Linked DNA regions of Homo sapiens: regions 1, 3, 4, 5, 6 and 7 are each linked to region 2. Evidence: promoter capture Hi-C in 16 types of primary human blood cells and fetal thymus (Javierre and others, 2016). All regions are on one chromosome and are shown on one strand. Each heading gives the region's core, a stretch centred on a gene start or on the middle of the fragment in contact. The rest is flanking DNA. Distances are from core to core; before and after follow the strand shown. Region 1 overlaps DNAH6 (dynein axonemal heavy chain 6). Region 2 holds the start of SUCLG1 (succinate-CoA ligase GDP/ADP-forming subunit alpha). Region 3 has its middle 15 kb from the start of TMSB10. Region 4 has its middle 12 kb from the start of KCMF1. Region 5 overlaps TRABD2A (TraB domain containing 2A). Region 6 overlaps DNAH6 (dynein axonemal heavy chain 6). Region 7 overlaps TRABD2A (TraB domain containing 2A).

Region 1 (2,700 bases), core at 72-2,571, 350 kb after region 2:
CCCAGCTACTCTGGAGGCTGAGGCAGGAGAATGGTGTGAACCCGGGAGGCGGAGCTCGCAGTGAGCCGAGATCACACCACTGCACTCCAGCCTGGGTGACAGAGCAAGACTCAGTCTCAAAAAAAAAAAAAAAAAAAAAAAAGGTCTTCCTGAATGATCACAAGAGATCTATTTTAACACTTTTCTTAGATCGATAGGAGATTTAGATGTCTTCATTATTCATGGTTGGAAGAGATGTCATTATAGGAAAAAGAAAATTGAGGCAGAAAAAACAGCAACTGAGTCCTGCTAATGCCCTTAAAGCCCCTGGAAGAAAAGGAGCCTTGTGGTTTCAGAAGTCAGTTATCTGCCTCCTAGAAGCAGGCCCTCAAGAGAATGTCTACTTGGGTAGAGAATTCTGTTGTTGAAGCAAACAGAGTCATTAAATATAAGATCAATAAATATAAGATAGAGTGCTGGTTGGGAAAAGGATGGAGAGATGAATGGATAGCTGCAGAGACCATGCACTTGTTTGGTAGAATCCCACTGACACCTAGGAGGGTTTTCTCTCCAGGCTTCATAAAGCTTGTACTTTTACTGTGAAATGCTAAGCAGATCATCTGCTGAGACTGAAGGGGCAGGAAAACAATTGGCTCAGCAAAAGAACTGAGGGTTTGAAATAGCCCTGAGAGGAATGGTGGAAAGAGAAGACCAGGGACATGTAACCACAGCACAGCGGACCCAAGAGATTAGACTCATTGGCACTGCTGTGGGATTTTTGTCCAGCAGCCAAATGTGTGTGGTCAAGAAGGAATTTGATACATGTATGTCATAGCCATTTGTTTACACATACTTTTCTCAAATACGCAAGAAAAAGGCTGTTCCTTCCTCTTTCGTAGCTCATATCGTTCTTCATCTGAGCCTGCATTTGGTGGATTGTAGGGAGAAAGAAGAGCTACATTTTCCATCCAGTTTGAACTATGGGCCTGTTTAATAATGCAGTCAGTCCCTTTAAATAATGCCCAGTAACATGCGATAAACACTAAGTCTCTCTCCTGTCTCAGTCTCCTGCCCCCAACCTTTCCTATGCAGTGCAGGTGAGCAGGGAAGTGGGAGATTTAAACGCTTGTATGGTAGAGGGGGAGACTTAGGGTCCCTGGGCCGTCTAGTCTCTGGAATGTTCCTTGTCTGCCAGGCAACCGCTTCATCCTGCTAGCATTTACCACTGAAGCCTTCAGGGCTCTGCCTCCCAATCAGCCAAAGCCAGGCACACCTTCCTATGCCCTCCTGCCAACCCCCTCATTCCACATTGGAGACCTTTCAAACCCCTCATCAAACTTGCAGATACCACTGAGCCATGCTGACCTTCCATTACATCCTCTTCCCTCTCAACCCCTCACCTCCTCCCCACAGTCAACCAGAATGAAAATAAGCAGGCTTCTCCTTCCTTTTTCCAGTCCTCCTTCTACATTAGCACAGCCAGTCTTTCTATGATCTCACTTAAGCAACAAGGACCTACCTCTCCTGTCCCAGGGCCATAGATCACATAGCTCACACTGGCTGGGAAGATGAAAATACCCATGGGGAACATGCTTTAAGGGAAGAAACAAAATGCAATGGTTTAATGTTTGAGAAAAAAAAGTGTATATATATGTGTGTGTGTGTGTGTGTGTGTGTGTGTGTGTGTGTGTATGCCCTGATACACTGATACACATGAATTTAAACATAATTTTCTGTGATTGCTTCTATATAAACACAGTTGAATCACAAAAGCATTCTAAATTATAGAAACATCACATTTAAATCCTATGTATCTGGCTTAAACAATGAGAGAAGCTGGCTTTTTAAAAATGTTAAGATAAGCACATTGCCTTAGCAATATTGTGAGAACAAATCAATGGTGACTGGCCTGAGGAATCGCTGTGTATGTTTCAGAAAAACTGGAAATGGAGGGTGCTTCTGAGAGCCTTTTTGTCAAGGATCTTCAAGGACGTCTGAACTCCTTGACCACCGTTCTTGGACAGGAAGTGGACCGGTTTAACAACCTGCTGAAGTTAATTCATGTATGAGAGCTTACTTTCATCATTGCTATTGAGCATCAAAGCTTTGTAGAGAGTTGTATAATATGAAATTCTTCCATTCCCATCACTTCAGCATTTCCATTTGGATACACTAACAACTCTTCAAGCCCAATGAGTCTAAAAATGAATTTATCCTTCTCTAATGAATCTGTATTCCCATTTTCTAATAATGATGGAGTGAATATGTAACATTACAAATTCTCAGTCTCCTCCTTATCCTTACACCCTTAGATTCTATTGACTCACTAGAAATTGTTCAGAGACCTAAGCACTCAATTAAGAGTAATTCAGTGTTTGTTCCTAATGTCTAGTTTGCATTTCATAACATAGTCTTTAAGCGAGACTGTGAAAACCATAATCTGTCAAAGTGTGGGCCACAGAATGCCTGCATTAGAGTCCCCTGTGGTGTGTTCAACATGTGGATTACTTGATCCCACTCAAGACCTACTGAGTTAGAATTTCTTGAAGCAGGGCCTGGGAATATGAATTTTAAATAAACTCCCCAGATAATTTTAATGTCACTAAAATTTGCAAACACCTGTTTGATCTTCTGCTTTATGTTCATAGATACTTTCTCTCTGCATTGCCTTGCATTTGTAATGATGGTCAAAGGCCTTCCTAGTTTCTCTGTGCATAACTT
Region 2 (2,700 bases), core at 176-2,675:
ATCTCCAGAAAGCTTTACCAAACAAACCATTTCATACTTGCTAACGTTATCTAGCCAGACCTTTGTCCTCAAGTGATTGGCAACTAAGTGTTAGCTATTGAGTGCACACTCATCAATGTACACTTTCAGAATGTAATCTTCTCAAGAAAGGAATTAAGTCTCATAAAATATTCAGTACAAGCAGAATTAAGAGCAAAGCGGAAAAAGAAAACTAACTTTGAGTGTTTGTTACATACGAGATGCTTTATATAAATTGCTCCACTTATTCTGCAGTGAACCCAGATCATCCTGTACATCATCATTGCTAAAATGCACATTTTTTTTCACTTTTTAAAAAACCAGGATACATGTGACAACCACTGGTGTGTCACAGTTTTAATAAGCAATCGTTCTTCATTGTTAGTGGTAAACAAAATAATGGTCCACCTTACAAGTGATGGTGCTTCAGGCCCCTTAAAATGTGTTAATATTTTCATGTGATTGGAAACACTGAAAAACAGATTAAGTGTCCAGGGTTATTACACAGACTGAAAAGGGACTAGCCAGACTTCAAACCCTGATGTGGCTGATTCCAAAGTTTCTTTCTACTATAACCTACCTGACAAGCACAGAGACTTTGAATATGGCAAGAATTTTCCATAGTCAGCGTGTCTCAAAGACTAGCAACCTTGGGTACTAAGTTTTCGGGAACGGATGTGTCCACAAATCGCCTGGTGGAGACACTGCAAATAAGCTGGTTTAGGTCCCAGCCAACCATAAGCTTCTAGTAGTCTATGCGGCTATGCCGACCCCACTCCGTGTGCAGAAACCATCTTTCCCTGACATACAATCCTGCAGAGGGGGAATTCGAAGTGCAGGACCTTTCCGTACTAGGGACAGCCTCATCCCCCAACTTCCTACTGAGACACTCTTCCTCTACCTCTCAACCCAGACCCTTACCTTCCCCACCAAGTTCACCTTGGACCTCTTCATCCCCAACTCCAAATAAGGCCAGTCTAGACGCCACCCCCATCCTGTCATTTGTCACCGCGGGGCCGAGAGCAAGCTCCCAAATTTGCAGGGCTCCCGGACCCGAATCCTGGCTCAGCCACCCAATATCTCCATCTGCCAGCGGCCTAAGTCATGCCCCCCGCCCCACGTATCCAGCAAAGCTCCTTCCACCGTAGGGGTCCCCGACTCGAAGCCGGAATCCCAAGCGGCTCCCAGGCCCCCGCCGAGGTCCAGCCCTGAGGGCCCAGCCGCGGCCTGGGCCAGGAGGTTGGGTCCGGCGGGGCCAATAACCCGCGGGCGCCAGGAAGACAGTACTGGCTGGACTCACGGAGGAAGCTGCGCGACAGGAGACGGGCGGCGGCGAGGCCGCTGCTGCCGGAGACCATGGTAGCGATGTCAGCGGCAGCGGCAAGGGTTGCGGTCATACGCCAATGACACTCCCAGGCCCCCGGGGACCTCCCAGGGGCAGAGGCCGGAGGAGGCAGAGGGTGGCCACAGCAGTCGCCTGAACAAATTTCCCTTTACAGAGGATTCTTCACGAAACAGCGGGAATGGCAGGTGAAGACAAAGAGGCATCCTATCGGAGAGGCAGATAATAACTCGGCTCCTTCCTAGAAATGTGGGTTTGATTAACATTAATTATAACAGCAGCTGAGGGAAAACCCCACGCGAGACTGGCCAGCGCGTGGCATTGTGGGCAATGTAGTCTGACGGCCGCGACTGGTTCGTAGCTTTTGAGTGAGGCGGCGGGAAGGGAGCGAGGGAAGAGCGGCAGTGAGACCGGGGAGACAAGGGACTTGAAGACTAGGAGGGAAGAAACAGCGAGGTGAGGTGCGAAGAGCAGTGCCAGAACTTTGTATCCCAGGCCCATCTCCTTCCCCCTTCGTTTTCCTCGTTTGCTATTAGAGAGAATAATATTTCTCACCGCGTACCTGTGCCTGGACCCGGAAGGGTTGCCGCTGGGGACGGGAATTCGAACTGGCACTGGTGGCCTGTGAAGGGAAAGATGTGATGAGAAAGACCAAAACCTATCTTACTGACAGTTAACTTCTTGGAATGTGAATTTTTTTAGTTAAATAATCATGCAGTCTTTGACTAGCACTAAGTGCATGAGTGTTTATTCCCTGAGGATCCTAAGGGCTGAAATTCGAGGTCAAATGTGACTTTGCTCCCTGATTGGACAAACAGTTCCCTCTTCTGTAACAGCTTTAGAAGGAACCTCAGAGAGTCCCAGAGTCAAAAGGTAAACAAGAGATGAAGTAATCTGCGTCTCTGCCGAAAATCGTGCTCCTGAGATTCCTCATCAGAATTGTCAATAAAATTGCAATCCTAATTTACTTAGGTAGTCATTATAATTGGCACTGAGCTGTGGGATGGATGAGTGGGATTACCCCAGGAGATTGCCCAATACTTCCTTTATGATCCAAATATTGTCATTAACAGGTTGGACTTCACTGCAAATAAACTCCTCCCTCATGGATCATGTTCTTGTGATAACTAAATTCCTCAGAGTTAAATAGTATCAGTGGTTTCCAGATATATCCATTATAACAAAATGGACATTTTTATGGCAAATAAATAGAAAATCCCTTGCTATTTTAAATAGCAAAATTATTCCTGAGCTGTCGCTTGATAAGTTATATGTTTAGTTTCATTTAATTGATAAAATGCATGATGACAAAAAATATAATTTCAGTACACTTTTAATGA
Region 3 (2,839 bases), core at 209-2,708, 460 kb after region 2:
TAAGTCACTGGGTTTTTGTTTGTTTTTGTTTTCTTTTTTTGTTTTGTTTTGTTTTTGTTTTGAGACGGAGTCTCTCTGTCACCCAGATTAGAGTGCAATGGTACCATCTCAGCTCACTGCAACCTCCCCCTCCTGGGTTCAAGCGATTCTCCCACCTCAGATTCCAAAGTAGCTGGGATTACAGGCACCTGCCATCATGCCCAGCTAATTTCTGTATTTTTGTAGAGATGGGGTTTCACCATGTTGGCCAGGCTGGTCTTGAACTCCTGACCTGAGGTGATCCGCCTGCCTCAGCCTCCCAAGGTGCTGGGATTACAAGCGTGAGCCACCACGCCTGGTCGTGTTTTTGTTTCCTGAGACAGAGTCTCACTCTGTCACCCAGGCTGGAGTGCAGTGGTGCCATCTCGACTCACTGCAACCTCCGCCTCCCAGGTTCAAGTAATTCTCCTGCATCAGCCTCCGGAGTAGCTGGGACTACAGGTACTGCGCCACTATGCCCGGCTAATTTTTGTATTTTTAGTAGAGATGGGGTTTCACCATGTTGGCCAGCCTGGTCTCAAACTCCTGACCTCAGGTAATCCATCCGCCTTGGCCTCCCAAAGTGCTGAGATTACAGGCGTGGGCCACCATGCCTGGCCAGACAGTCCAATATTTTTAAATCAGCCATAAATCTATGCACCGAATAATGTCTCTCTCTCTCTCTCTGACACATACACACATACACACATGCGCACGCGTGCACACCCACACATTGTTACCACTTAGAAGAGTGCCAGGCCCAGATGGTTTCACAGACGATTGCTTTCAAAGCTGCAAGAAAGCAATAACTTCAATACCTCAAAATTTGTTTCAGTAGTTAGAAAAGGACATATGCTTCCTGTGATGGTTAATTTTAGCTGTCAACTTGACTTGATTAAGTAATACACTAGTCTCCCCTTATCCATGGAGGGTATGTTCCAAGATCCCCAGTGGATGCCTGAAGCCACACATGTACCGAACCCTGTACACACCTATGATAACGTTTAATTTATAAATTAGGCACAGTAAGAGATTAACAACTAATAATAAAATAGAACAATTAAACAGTTGAACACAAGCACTGTGATGCTGTGACAGTCACTCGTAACTGAGATGGCTGCTAAGAGACTAGCTAACGGGTGAGTAGTGTATACAACGTGGAAACACTGGACAAAGGGATGAGTCACATCCTGGGAGGGACAGAGTGGAATGCCATGAGATTTCATCATGTTACACAGAACGATGAGCCATTTAAAACTTACGGATTGTTTATTTCTGGAATTTTTAATTTAATATTTTCAGACCAAGGTTGACCAGGAGTAACTAAAACTACAGAAAGCAAAACTGAATAAAGTGGGGAGTCGAGAACCTAGAGAGCTGGTAAAGCATTCTTTCTAGGTGTGTCTGTGAGGGTGTTTTCACAGGAGATTGGCATGTGAGTGGGTGGGCTGACTGAGGAAGATCTGCCCTCAGTGTGGGCGGACAACATCCAATTGGCTGTGGGCCCAGATAGAACCAAAAGGCAGAGAAAAGGCAAATTCTTTTTTTCTCTCTCCTGAAGCTGGGCCATCCTTCTTCTTCTGACCTTGGACATCAGAACTGCAGGCTCCCTGGCCTTTGGACTCTGGGTCTTACATTAGCAGCCCCCAGGTTCTTGGCCTTTGGCCTTGGACTGAGAATTACACTATCAGCTGCCCTGGTTCTGAGACTTTAGGACTTGAACTGAGCCCCACTGTGGTATTCCACGGTCTCCAGCTTACAGACAGTCTGTCGTGGGACTTTTCACCTCCCTAATCTCATGAGCCAATTCCCCTAATAAATCCCCTCTCATATATCTATATACAGTCGCCCCTCATATCTATGGGAGATGGGTTCCAGGTTATGTTGCCCAGGCTGGCCTTGAACTCTTGGGCTCAAGCTATCCTCCCATCTCAGCTTCCCAAGTAGCTAGGACTATCATATTCTTTTTTTTTTTTTTTTTTTGAGACGGAGTCTCGCTCTGTCACCCAGGCTGGAGTGCAGTGGTGCGATCTCGGCTCACTGCAAGCTCTGCCTCCCGGGTTCATGCCATTCTCCTGCCTCAGCCTCCTGAGTAGCTGGGACTACAGGCGCCCACCACCACACCCAGCTAATTTTTTTTTTTTTTGTATTTTTAGTAGAGACGGGGTTTCACCATGTTAGCCAGGATGGTCTCGATCTCCTGACCTCGTGATCTGACCGCCTCGGCCTCCCAAAGTGCTGGGATTACAGGCATGCGCCACTGTGCCCGGCCCATATTCTTTTTTTTTTTTTTTTTTTTTGGAGACAGAGTCTTTTTCTGTCGCCCAGGCTGGAGTGTAATGACATGATCTCAGCTCACTGCAATCTCTGCCTCCTAGTTTCAAGCGATTCTCCTGCCTCAGCCTCCCAGGTAGCTGGGATTACAGGTGCCCGCCACCATGCCTGGCTAATTTTTTGTATTTTTAGGAGACACGGGGTTTCACCACGTTGGTCAGGCTGGTCTCAAACTCCTGACCTCAGGTGATCCACCCGCCTCGGCCTCCCAGAGTGCTGGGATTACAGGCATGAGCCACCGTGCGCGGCCAAACTATATTCTTAAACACATTTTGTTCTGGCTTATTGCTGCATATCAAATAACTCCAAGACTTAGCGTCTTAAAACAATCACTATTTTGTTATATATCCTGTAGGACAGGAATTCTTATCTCCCTGCAGATAGCAAAATCCAGAGATGGTCAAATCCCTGCTATAAAATGGCATAGTATTTGCATATAACCTATGCACATCCTCCAGTACACTTTAAATCATCTCGAGATTATTTA
Region 4 (2,700 bases), core at 195-2,694, 500 kb after region 2:
ATTTTCCCAACGACCTCTCAGTGGGCCATTCAGGCAGGAAAGGATACACACATTCCTAATGGGGCCAGGGGCTGTGACTTAGCCTGTGTGTGGCTGAGAGCCTGCTGAATACAAGGTGCTGGCAGTTGGCAGGGCTTCCCAGGGTGGGGACTTCTTGCTGAGCTCATCAGCAGGCCCAGCTCTGTACCCATTTGTCCAGGGAAAAACCAACCCCTAATGGAACTGTTTGTTTTATACTCTCTCATCGAAGTCATAAATGACTCACAACTAGAATGTTATTAACGTGAGAACAGAGGCCTACCTGGCAGAATAATTGGTTTTGGTCATTTGCTCAGAGTGCCAGGCAAATCCACAAAGCATATCAAATTACAGGTTAGAAACCTGATGAATAAACAAGAATAATACTGTGAGTTCTCAAGGGTACGTCCTGTACCTGTTTTGCCCACTGTCATATCTCCGGCAAGACACAGTGAATACAGCCCCTGACACATTGGAGGTAATCTATAAAGAGTTACTAAATGATTAAAGAAAAGGGATGAGCTGTTCTTAGTGGAAACACCCATTTCTCCTAAGATGAATTCGCATTCTTTTGGACCAGTTCTTTCTAAATTAACAGCACTACCCAGTGGTATCAGAGCATCTATACCTTTGGATATTACAACAACTCTATAAATTCTAATTGCTTCTTCTTTTTTTTTTTTTTTTTTGAGACAAGAGTTTTGCTTTTTCACCCAGGCTGGAATGAAGTGGCGCGATCTTGGCTCACTGCAACCTCCACCCCACCGGGTTCAGGCGATTCTCCTGCCTCAGTCTCCTGAATAGCTGGGATTATAGGCGTCCGCCACCACGCTGGCTAATTTTTGTATTTTCAGTAGAGACGGTGAAGCCATGTTGGCTAGGCTGGTCTCGAACTCCTGACCTCAGGTGATCCACCCACCTCAGCCTCCCAAAGAGCTAGGATTACAGGCGTGAGCCACCGTGCCCAGCTGAGACGCTATAATTTCTAACCTATGGCTTCCCCTTTTCTGGATTCCATGCAGTCCACACACAAGCATTCTATGACTCATTACCTCCTGAGCATCCAGCTTCTTAACTGTTACATTCTAGGGATCTTTTCCACAGTATGTTTCTAACTCCTTGATGGTTTTTGGGGGAGACCTGGGTGACACACTTGGAACAGACCTGCTCCAGGGGCTTGTTACTTTGTGTGCATCCCGCTCCCTTCACTTTCAGGTGACCTCATTTTCTAATCTTCCTTAGAGCAACCAATCCCCCATACACTGTCTCCTTCTTCAGAGAATCTTTCTATGTGGATTTGTGCTTTTTAAATTGGCATATGAGTTTTAGGCACAGTTGGACCAGGAAATGCCTTCCTGAGGAATTCAGCAGCTTCTAGAGATAAAATGTGATAGAGCAAATTATGAGTCTGGGAATCAGGACATCTGGGTTCCAGTTTTGTACACATCATTCATTTCACAAATAAGCACCCAAAGCCCACTATGATAGCCAACTGCAGGGCTGTGCTACAAGTATGTAAACAAAGACACCTACTCCTGCCCAAGGGCAGCCCAGTGGGGGAAGTGAAAGGATTAAATTGCAATAATAGAGAATTGTAAAAGGAATTGGGAGCACTTAGTGAGGTGGTTCTACAACTTTATTGCACCATCAGGATCCCCACGGGTGTTCTTTCAAATGCCAATCTTTGAGCCCCATCCTTCAGAGATCCTGATCCGGTTGATCTAGGAATGCTCAGGGACATTGAATGTTTATTCTGAGCACCTTCCCTCCTCCCTCCACTCCCCTCCTGGTGATTCCACTGGAAGTGGCCCCAACCCACACTCTTTCCTTCAAGAAAAGGTTCACAAAGGCAGGGGTCTGGAGCTGATTTTTTTTTTTTTTTTTTTTCCCAAGAGACAAGGTGTTGCTCTGTCACCCAGGCTGGAGAGCAGTGGTGCAATCATAGCTCACTGCAGCCTCAACCTCCCGGACTCAAGTGGTCCTCCCATCTCAGCTTCCCAAGTAGGAACTACAGGCATGTGCCACCACGTCCAGCCCTTACAGCACATCCAGCTCTTACAGCTGATTTTTAAAGGAGGAAGGAGTACAAACTTATGAGGCACAGAGGCAAAAAATGGCATGATTTTACCCTACGCTCTAAGAAAATGAAGGCCATGAGGCATGAATACCACAGCTTCCTGACCTACCCAAATGGACACCTTTATCTCCACTGGCAATTTTTCTTTTTTGACAGAGTCTCACTCTGTCTCTCAGGCTGGAGTGCAGTGGCACGATCTCGGCTCACTGCAACCTCCACCTCCCGGGTTCAAGCGATTCTCCTGCCTCAGCCTCCTGAGTAGATGGGACTACAGGCGCGAGCCACCATGCCCAGCTAATTTTTGTATTTTTAGTAGAGATGGGGTTTCACCATCTTGGCCAGGCTGGTCTTGAAATCCTGACCTCCTGACCTCCTGATCTACGCGCCTCGGCCTCCCAAAGTGCTGGGATTACAGGTGCGAGCCACCGTCACTGGCCAATTTTTGTATTTTCTTAGTAGAGACAGGGTTTCACCATACTGGCCAGGCTGGTCTTGAACTCCTGACCTCGTGATACACCTACCTTGGGCTCTCAAAGTGCTAGGATTACAGGCATGAGCCACCGCACCCGGCCCATTGGCAACCTTCCTATAGCACCAGCAGAGGA
Region 5 (2,700 bases), core at 85-2,584, 390 kb after region 2:
TGCCAGCATGACCATGGGATTGGGGAAGGGGTTGCCAGAATGACCGCAGAGTTGAGGGAGGATGGCCAAAATGACCATGGGCTGGGGGGAGGGGTGGCCAGAATGACCATGAGGTGGCAGGAGTTGCTAGCTTGGCTATCAGCAGCAGGGCCAATATGTCCTCAGGGGCTGTTGGCAGGGTGGAGGAGGGTGTTGCAGCTTGTACCTGGAGGTGCTTCCAGCACCTCAGCAAGAGCCACCAGGCTTTCCCCAGAGGGCAGCAGGAATGTGACAACTGCAAAGATGACCCATATGCCCAATGTAGGAGCAGCCAAAGGCCCAGTGATGAGACCTTTATCTCCATTGTGCAGAGTGACAGCTCCCTGAGTGAATTAGATGGAAGCCAGAGCCTCCTGGGCCAATGGCAAGACCAGAAGGAAATAAGGAAAAAGAAGAATAGATCTCCCAATGGGAGAAGTTTCCATTAGCCCAGGAGGGTAAAGGTCACTGCAGGACACAGAAGACAGGTCAATCTGAAAATCATCTCCTTAACCAGCTGTGGAACCACTAGAGAGGGCAAAAGAGGGTGTTGTGGGTTAAATTTTTCCCCCCACCCAAAAGATATGTTCATCCTAACCCCCAGGACCTATGAATGTGAACTTATTTGGAAACAAGCTCTTGCAGATATATTTAAGTTAAGATCATTAGGGTGGGTTCTAATCCAATATGACTGCGTCCTTATAAGAAAGGGAAATTTAGATACAGAAAGACAGGCACCCACAGGGGGAAGACCATGCAGAAACACCCACCGAGAACACCATGTGATGCCAAAGGCAGTGTGTTAGTCCGTTCTCACGCTGCTAATAAAGACATACCCAAGACTGGGTAATTTATAAAGGAGGAAGGTTTAATTGACTCACGGTTTTGAAGGGCTGAGGAGGCCTCAGGAAACTTACAACCATGGCAGAAGAGGAAGCAAACATGTCCTTCGTCACATGGCAGCAGGAAGGAGAAGTGCTGAGCAAAAGGGGGAAAAGCCCCTTATGAAACTATCAGATCTCATGAGAACTCACTATCAGGAGAACAGCATGGAGGTAACCACCCCCATGATTCAATTACCTCCCACCTGGTCCCGCCCATGACACATGGGGATTATGGAAACTACAGTTCAGTGTAAGATTTGGGTGGGGACACAGCCAAACCATATCAGGCAGAGACTGGAGTGAGGCTCCTACAAGACAAGAAACACCAAGGATAGGTGTCAACCACCAGAAGCTGGAAGGGGGGATTCTCCTCTAGGTCCTTCAGAGAGAACACTGACTGGCCAATACCTCAATTTAAGATTTCCAGCCTTGATGGGTGCAGTGGCTTACGCCTATAATCCCAGCACTTTGGGAGGCCAAGGCACACAAGGTCAGGATTTCGAGACCAGCCTGGCCAATATGGTGAAACTCCATCTGTACTAAAAATACAAAAATTAGCTAGGCATGGTGGCGCACACCTGTGGTCCCAGCTTCTTGGGAGGCTGAGGCAGAAGAATCACTTGAACCTGGGAGGCAGAGGTTGCAGTGAGCAGAGATCGCCCCACTGCACTCCTGCCTGGGCACAGAGCGAGACTCCATCTCAAAAAATATTTATTTATTTATATTTCATATATTATATATAAATATATATTATTTATATTTGAAAAAATAAAAATAATACAATTTTTAAAAACAAAAATACAGTATAACAACTATTTACATTGCATTTACATTGTATTATGTATTGTAAGTAACGCAGAGATGACAAAGTATTTGGGAGGGTGTGCGTAGGTTATATCCAAATGCAACTTGCCATTTTATAGCAGGAACTTGAGCATCTTTGAATTTTGGTATCCAAGTGGGTCTTGGAACCAATCCCCCATGGATACTGAGGGACAACTGTACAGGCTAGATACGAGTAAGCCCAACCACTTACAGTGGATGGAGCAAAAGCAACAGCAAACTTACCAAAACATTATGCACTGGGCACTTTACAAAGGTTCTCTATTTATTCTTTACTACAAACTGACAATGTTTGTTTCATCATACCCCTTTTAGAAATAAGAAAACAGACTCAGAAAGGTTCAATATCTCACCCAAGGTCACAATACTAGGAAATGGGGGAGCCAGGATTCAAACCCAGATCCACGGTCTCCAAAGTTGATACTCTCCACTGAGAAACTGCACAGAATAACAGGGCAATAGGCAGGAAGACTGGCCTTGGTGCCTCCCAGGCCTCTAAAGCCAACCTCTCCTCAGGCAAGACCTGCCTGACTGCCCAGACCCATGCAACTCTAAGGCAAGGAGAGGCAATACACCTACTTCTCCTGAATGCCCTGTCCTGGTTATGACAGCACCACCAGGTAAGATGCACAGACAGCCTCAAATTCACCCTTCCTGTCCTGTTAACTAATGCCCCTTGCCCCCCCAGAGATCATGGTGTCAGGTCCACCTCTGGGGAAAAGCTCCACAAAACCATCCTTGGATTACAGACCTTTCTCTCCTACTGGGTGTACCAAAGGTGTCAAATCACTGTGCCCTTCCTCTACCAACCCCTACCCAAACCACAGCCTCTGAAGGGACAGCCCTATGTAGGACATGATTCCACGTGCCCCCTCCCTCCCCAAGCCATGCCAGTTACACCTGAGTGGACACCTGACTCGATGATATGGCACTGGCTGAATCATCAGCTTTACAT
Region 6 (2,915 bases), core at 95-2,594, 320 kb after region 2:
CACCATTCAGAATCTCCACTATTTCCACTCTTTTGCTGTCAAATAAGAGAGGGCCTGCTTCCTGCTGGGCCTGTGGCTTATTTCTACTTAAATAATTAAAGAGAAATGACAAGGAGGTCTTCAGTACTGGTCAGGGGTCCCCAGTGATTAGGAATATAATTAAGAAAAAAATGCTAGAGAGGCAGCAAAAAAGCAATTTACTGTGGTGGTACTACATGAGGCTCCAGAATATGGAGATGCCATTCAGTTTCACTGTAACTAGGACAAGAACATTTGCCAGTTCTTCAAGGAGACTGGATCGGCTAATGAAGCCAGCTGAAGTTGTTTGTGTATTTTAAGTGCTTACTAAACTTAAGTGGATAGAAAAAATCCTCTTATGGCCCTTGCTATAATCATTTATCACCTAACCATTTAAGTTCTGATGTTTAACTTGAACCAGTAGGAAATAAAATACATTCAGGTAATAAGCTGAAAATACAAAAGGAAGAAAAAGAAAAAAAACAAAACAAATAAAACCTCAGAACTTGAAATCCTAACACCTCCACAGAGTTCTGCCCCACCACTTCCTGACTGTGCATGTCATATCTTTTTTCTGGGCCAGTTTCCCCAGCTATAAAATGACTACATGACATCATCATGAAAAGTCCTGTACTAAGATGATTTCTAAGATGCTCTTCTAGTCCAGCCCTAAAATTCTATGATGTCTATGAAAGTTAAGAAGCTTGGTGCTTTTGCAATTATAAGAACAAAAGTATGGAAAAAATCCTTCTCCAAACCTGGCCTTCTTCTTTCTTTGGTTTTTTGGTTACTGAAATCATTGGCCCTAAGACTTTGGTTGTTGTTTGACTTCTTTGCCTAATAGTTTTTACTATGCAAACAGTGTTAGTATTGCTCTAGAATTTGGTAGAACTAACTTTTAATTTGGGCTATTTAATGTGGCTTGTGAATTTAGATTACCAAACCAAGAAGCATGAAATCAGCTTTGACTTGTTGTCATTCATTCCATAAATAATTAAGGGCCTAGTGTACCATGTATTGTTCTAGGATATGTTGATAAACAAAAGAACCATAGATATTTGTCCTCGTAGAGTTTCCATTCTAGTTGGGGGGAGACAGACAATGAATAAACCACATGGTAAATAAGTAACGTATACGTTGTGTTAGAACATGGTTGTGCTTTGGAAAAAATAAAAAGGAGAGTAAGGTAAGGAGGACCAGAAAGATTGAGATGGGATGTGAGTAGGGAGCAAGGAAGATAGCAATTTTAAGTGGTTTAATCTGAGTAGTCCTCTTTCAGAAGGTGATATTTGACCAAGACATGAAGAAAGTGAGGGAATCTGAGGGAACAGCCAGTGCAAAGGCCCTAGTGAGGGAGCCAGCCTAGCATGTTTGAGAAACAGCATAATACGTACTTAAAAACCAATGCCAAGGAATTTGTCCTTGAATGATGCCTGTGTCTTCCTGTGATGGGAACAATGATTTTTCCAACTTTACTTTGGCCTTTTGAACCTACAGTGGAGCTCATTCTTTCTTGGGTCCTCTGTCCATATCTCAGAAAGTAAGTGCATTGACTTAACGTGCTAATGCCACACATGAGGTCTCTCCATATCCTGGCTCCCTTGTTTCCTTTGCAACTTTTCTGCTGAGGGGAGAATTTTCTCAGTAGGGGTTTTTGGCCATTTTCATGCAACTTGTGTTAAATTGAAGGGTCAAAAAATCCTCATGAAAATAAATACATGGGCAATAACTGCCCTCTTTTTCAACTGAAAATGTTTCCTATTTCAAAGATAAGGCCCTTAATAGTTCAGCAAGTATTAAAAATTATCGTGTTCCTAATTTATTTACCCAAATGTGCCTGCTTCTAGACTGCCAAACCTTCCTAACGTGAAGTTTCTAAAACAATGCATCTTACTCCCATTTTGAAACAGTTTACACTATACTTGTAATAGATTAACTAGATCTTTAAACAAAGCTTATAGCATTTTTTCCTTCTCTAGAAATAATCATGTCTTATAGAAAAGTGCTACTACCAACTAAACATTTTCCTTTTTTGTTGTTTTATCTTTGTTTTAAGCAGATAGTGCTATCAAGGACACTTTTCGACTTTTTTTAAGCTCCATGCCTAGTAATACATTTCCTGTTACAGTTCTTCAAAATTCTGTCAAGGTAATGTATGCATATGGTTGGAACAATGTGAAATGGTTGGTTTCAGAATATTCACCTAGTGCCTCCCAGGAGATCAGAGCCTGCACAGAAGCATGTGGAGGTCTGTGTGGCCAGCATGGGGAGGTGAAGTCAGTATCTTTTCACCTATAACAAGCAGAGAAACGATTTCCCAACCCCATCCTTGCATATTCTAGTCCTATGGGTCATTCAGCTCTCCCAGCCGTCACCCTCACAAGAAAATGTTAAGGGTACAGAGTGATAAGAAGAGAACCCCTTCTAGTGTTAAGGGAATGTTTCAGTATTTGAGAGACAGGAAGGCCTACAAGCCATACTAGTATGGCTGCTGGATTTCAATGCTGGAAGTTTATGATCTGTGGCAAGCCTCTGCATATGAGGAACAAGAGTTGCTTCTTCCCTCCCTGTCCCACGTCATGGGACATCAGGGGACAAACTATGGAACAATGCCCTATGTAGGGATGATGCAAAATTCAATGAGGAAACCCTGAGCATGCTTTCTGACCTGTGTTTAGAAAAAATGGACACTAAATGGAAGTGTCTGAGGTTCTTGTCATGTGGTTCAACCACTGTAGGTCTGAGAAACCTGCCATTCCCTATTCTCCCTGGACTGTGCCTGAGCAAGATACAAAGCAGGCTCGAACATGCCAGGAATGGTCCCCACCTCCCCATGAACATCAGCAATCTACATCATTTCAATGGCTTCAGTCTATGTGTGTTATTCAGAAATAATG
Region 7 (2,824 bases), core at 61-2,560, 410 kb after region 2:
TTGGGAGTATGAAAGAAGGCTTTGGCTCAGGTTAAAATGCTCACCAATTTCAAATTCATTCCGTCAAAATCAATAAGCCTTCAAATCAAAGCACCTTTCTTTTTCAAAATATTATATTAAATGCAGACATTGAAAAGGTTATAACATTGGCTCTTTGGGTTTCCATAATAATGCAAGAAAATCTTTCCCAGGAGATCAATGCAGACAATTAATGATCCCTTATCTTATCTATAAATCTTAGTGTGCCAAACAAATACTATAGCATATAGAATAGCATCGGATTACTTATTAATATTATAGAATTTTAGCAAGATAAATTCCCTAAAGATATCATTATCAACTCAGGAACATTATTTTTAGATTGTTACATGTCCTTACACCTTTTAAATAACAACCTTAGTTCAGTATGTCAAGATCTGCTAAGGCTGAGCTATTTGGATTAACAGTAATCTCAAATTCTGAGGAACAAAACCTCAACGTGACCCAATGAGAACATTTACAAAACAAGAACACTTTATTTCATATTGCAAGACTCCCATTGGTCTCCAGAAGTGTCTAATGCACTTTAAACAACTTTTATGGAAACAACTAAACCATGGCACTTTAATCAAGTATTACTTATGAGAATTGAAGAACCAACTTCTTGAACATCAAATTAAATTCCAATGCCCTGGGGTAGGATCCTTAAACCAGGGGTAAGAAGAGCATAACTCTGCCTAGGAAAGGAACTGTCCTGGGGCAGTGTCCTAAAGAGGGACAGTAGTGACCTCAAAGAGACTGCTGTCTCCTAAAGTAGCAATGGCCAGTATATTTTCAAACCAGGCCATGCCCTGTGACAACCAGTGTGGCATCCACATGTCCACAACGTCTCAAAGCAGCTTTTTAATGAAGGATCTGAACTAAGATGCATTTTAAAAGCACACAGTATGGGCCAGGCACAGTGGCTCACACCTGTAATCCCAGCACTTTGGGAGGCCGAGGCAGGCAGATCACTTGAGGTCAGGAGTTCGAGACCAGCCTGGCAACATGGCAAAACCTCGTCTCTACTAAAAATACAAAAAGTAGTCGGGCGTGGTAGCACACACCTGTAATCCCAGCTACTAGGGAGGCTGAGACAGGAGAAATGCTTGAACCCAGAGGGCAGAGGTTGCAGTGAACTGAGATCGCACCACTGCACTCCAGCCTGGGTGGAATGACTCTGTCCCAAAAAAAAAAAAAAAAAAGTACACAGTATTTGTTGGAATGATAAGAAAAAAACAAGTTTTTTTTCTTGGCAATACTCAAATAAGTGATATAACTGACCACTTGGCTTTTTTTTTAACCCCCGGAAAAGCATTTTTAAGCAAAGACAATTTCTAGACAAGCTGTGCCCGTGATCCATCACCTGCCCTGAAACTCAACAGATTCACCCATACAACCAAATGCCACTAAGTCTTTTATGCAAAGAGAGTCTTACCTGTGAAAAGTTCAACCCATTCAATGGATGGCACTGCTCTTCCACCTTTTCCACTGCCCCAGTCTGTTTCCTCAGCCGCTCAGCCTCCTGGGCAAGGAACAGGTCTAAGACAGGCACTCCACGGGACTTAATGTCCACTTCAGTCAGGGAGTTGACCATGAGCATCACCCAGACAGGCCTCTTGCGCTCCCAGTTTCCGGCAATAGCATTGAAGAGGTAGTCTGCGTAGAGCCCCTTGCCGCGCTGGTCTGGGGTCATCCACAAGGGCATCATGAGCTTGACATACTCCAGGTGGCGCTTGAGGCGGCAGTAGATGTCCCTGGGGAGCACATCTTGGAGGTTCTCGCCCTGTGGCAGCATCTGACAGCTGGTGAGAGCTGAGATGGTATAGGGGTCTGTGAGATCCAACTCAAAGTACACAATGCTGCTCTGCAGGAAAGCCTCCTTAGAGTTGTCGGGGATGAAGTCCCAAACTCGGGTGTACGGGACATGGATTGTGCCAAAGAAGTAAGATGGTGGGTCTCGCTTAATGGTCCACAAGAAGGAATTCAGCTCGCTTTGCTGAAAAGAAAAGAGGTAACATCAAGGTATAATATGGGGGAGAGGCATGGTCAGGAACCTGTGAGAGGAAATGAATCAGTCACATTTCAAGAGAAAAGATATCAAAGTAGAATTTAGACTTTTGAGTCCGTGTAGATTCACCTGCCAGGACAATCCATTGCCCTAAATAGACAGGAGCAAATTATGAAATCAGGGGCTCATTAGGACTCTAGTTTCAACCTTGGCTGTATGTTGGGATCACCAGCGGAGCTTTAAAAGAAGCATCTCTGAGTCCTACCTCCAGACATTCTGATCTGATTGGTCTGGGATGAGACTCAGCTTTTCAATCAAAAGGGGATGGGACCCCCTTTTCAATCAAAATGTTGATTCCAAGATGAGAAAGCAATAGCAGTCACCAGTTTTGAGATTGTGCCATGCCTGCCCTAGCAATGAACTGGGCAAGAGTTAAAGAAGTGAGTCTCAGGGGCCTCCAAGGATATACCTGATACCATCTAAGAGACACCTGAGAAGCCCACTGTCTCCCAGGCAGACCTGATGATCCCTGCTCTTTCAGATCTCAAAACCAACATCCCCAAAGGCAGAGGCTTCAACTCTAGCTATGCACTGGAATCACCCCCAAAGCTTTTGAAAGTCCAATGCCTGGGTCCCACCCCAGACCAATCACATCAGAATCTCTGGAGGTGGAACTCAGAAATGCTACTTTTTTTTTTTTTTGAGAAGGAGTCTCACTCTGTTGCCCAGGCTGGAGTGCAATGGCGCAATCCTGGCTCACTTCACTGCAACCTCAGCCTCCCGGATTCAAGCAAT

The links. The method cuts DNA at HindIII sites, captures the fragments that hold promoters and counts their contacts. A CHiCAGO score of 5 or more calls a contact.
Region 1: a contact is called between a fragment that was not itself captured here and the fragment with the promoter of SUCLG1 in region 2, in 2 of 17 cell types (M0 macrophages and M2 macrophages). The highest score is 5.2, in M0 macrophages.
Region 3: a fragment that was not itself captured here is called in contact with the fragment with the promoter of SUCLG1 in region 2 in 14 of 17 cell types (total B cells, fetal thymus, naive CD4 T cells and 11 more); the score reaches 10.9 in total B cells.
Region 4: a fragment that was not itself captured here is called in contact with the fragment with the promoter of SUCLG1 in region 2 in 6 of 17 cell types (non-activated CD4 T cells, naive CD8 T cells, naive B cells and 3 more); the score reaches 8.2 in non-activated CD4 T cells.
Region 5: a fragment that was not itself captured here is called in contact with the fragment with the promoter of SUCLG1 in region 2 in 6 of 17 cell types (monocytes, M2 macrophages, M0 macrophages and 3 more); the score reaches 10.2 in monocytes.
Region 6: a fragment that was not itself captured here is called in contact with the fragment with the promoter of SUCLG1 in region 2 in 3 of 17 cell types (total CD8 T cells, naive CD4 T cells and activated CD4 T cells); the score reaches 6.8 in total CD8 T cells.
Region 7: a fragment that was not itself captured here is called in contact with the fragment with the promoter of SUCLG1 in region 2 in 14 of 17 cell types (M1 macrophages, M0 macrophages, fetal thymus and 11 more); the score reaches 14.3 in M1 macrophages.

The regions. Positions count from the first base shown.
Region 1 is chr2:84,806,501-84,809,200 of GRCh38, forward strand. It overlaps DNAH6 (dynein axonemal heavy chain 6), which reads left to right. Exons shown (of 77, transcript NM_001370.2): 72 at 1,915-2,042. Among named protein-coding and RNA genes, the nearest start is that of TRABD2A, 73 kb to the right of the region's middle. The HindIII fragment of the contact is 1,519 bases long and covers 563-2,081 here.
Region 2 is chr2:84,457,855-84,460,554 of GRCh38, forward strand. SUCLG1 (succinate-CoA ligase GDP/ADP-forming subunit alpha) reads right to left here and starts at 1,426. Exons shown (of 9, transcript NM_003849.4): 1 at 1,319-1,426. The coding sequence starts at 1,415. It also overlaps a transcript of DNAH6 not described here. RefSeq lists an enhancer at 1,463-1,602 and a silencer at 1,783-1,972. The HindIII fragment of the contact is 6,917 bases long and covers 759-2,700 here.
Region 3 is chr2:84,918,843-84,921,681 of GRCh38, forward strand. No RefSeq gene overlaps it. Among named protein-coding and RNA genes, the nearest start is that of TMSB10, 15 kb to the left of the region's middle. RefSeq lists enhancers at 484-543, 523-1,722, 1,494-1,683 and a cis regulatory region at 1,035-1,623. The HindIII fragment of the contact is 2,952 bases long and covers 1-2,839 here.
Region 4 is chr2:84,958,304-84,961,003 of GRCh38, forward strand. No RefSeq gene overlaps it. Among named protein-coding and RNA genes, the nearest start is that of KCMF1, 12 kb to the right of the region's middle. RefSeq lists enhancers at 1-155, 156-846, 847-1,536, 1,537-2,226 and a silencer at 1-137. The HindIII fragment of the contact is 3,010 bases long and covers 1-2,700 here.
Region 5 is chr2:84,852,415-84,855,114 of GRCh38, forward strand. All of the region lies in intron 2 of TRABD2A (TraB domain containing 2A), which reads right to left. Among named protein-coding and RNA genes, the nearest start is that of TRABD2A, 27 kb to the right of the region's middle. The HindIII fragment of the contact is 5,384 bases long and covers 1-2,700 here.
Region 6 is chr2:84,782,645-84,785,559 of GRCh38, forward strand. DNAH6 (dynein axonemal heavy chain 6) reads left to right here. Exons shown (of 77, transcript NM_001370.2): 66 at 2,078-2,166. Among named protein-coding and RNA genes, the nearest start is that of TRABD2A, 97 kb to the right of the region's middle. The HindIII fragment of the contact is 1,251 bases long and covers 720-1,970 here.
Region 7 is chr2:84,868,769-84,871,592 of GRCh38, forward strand. TRABD2A (TraB domain containing 2A) reads right to left here. Exons shown (of 7, transcript NM_001277053.2): 2 at 1,457-2,017. Among named protein-coding and RNA genes, the nearest start is that of TRABD2A, 11 kb to the right of the region's middle. The HindIII fragment of the contact is 2,652 bases long and covers 1-2,636 here.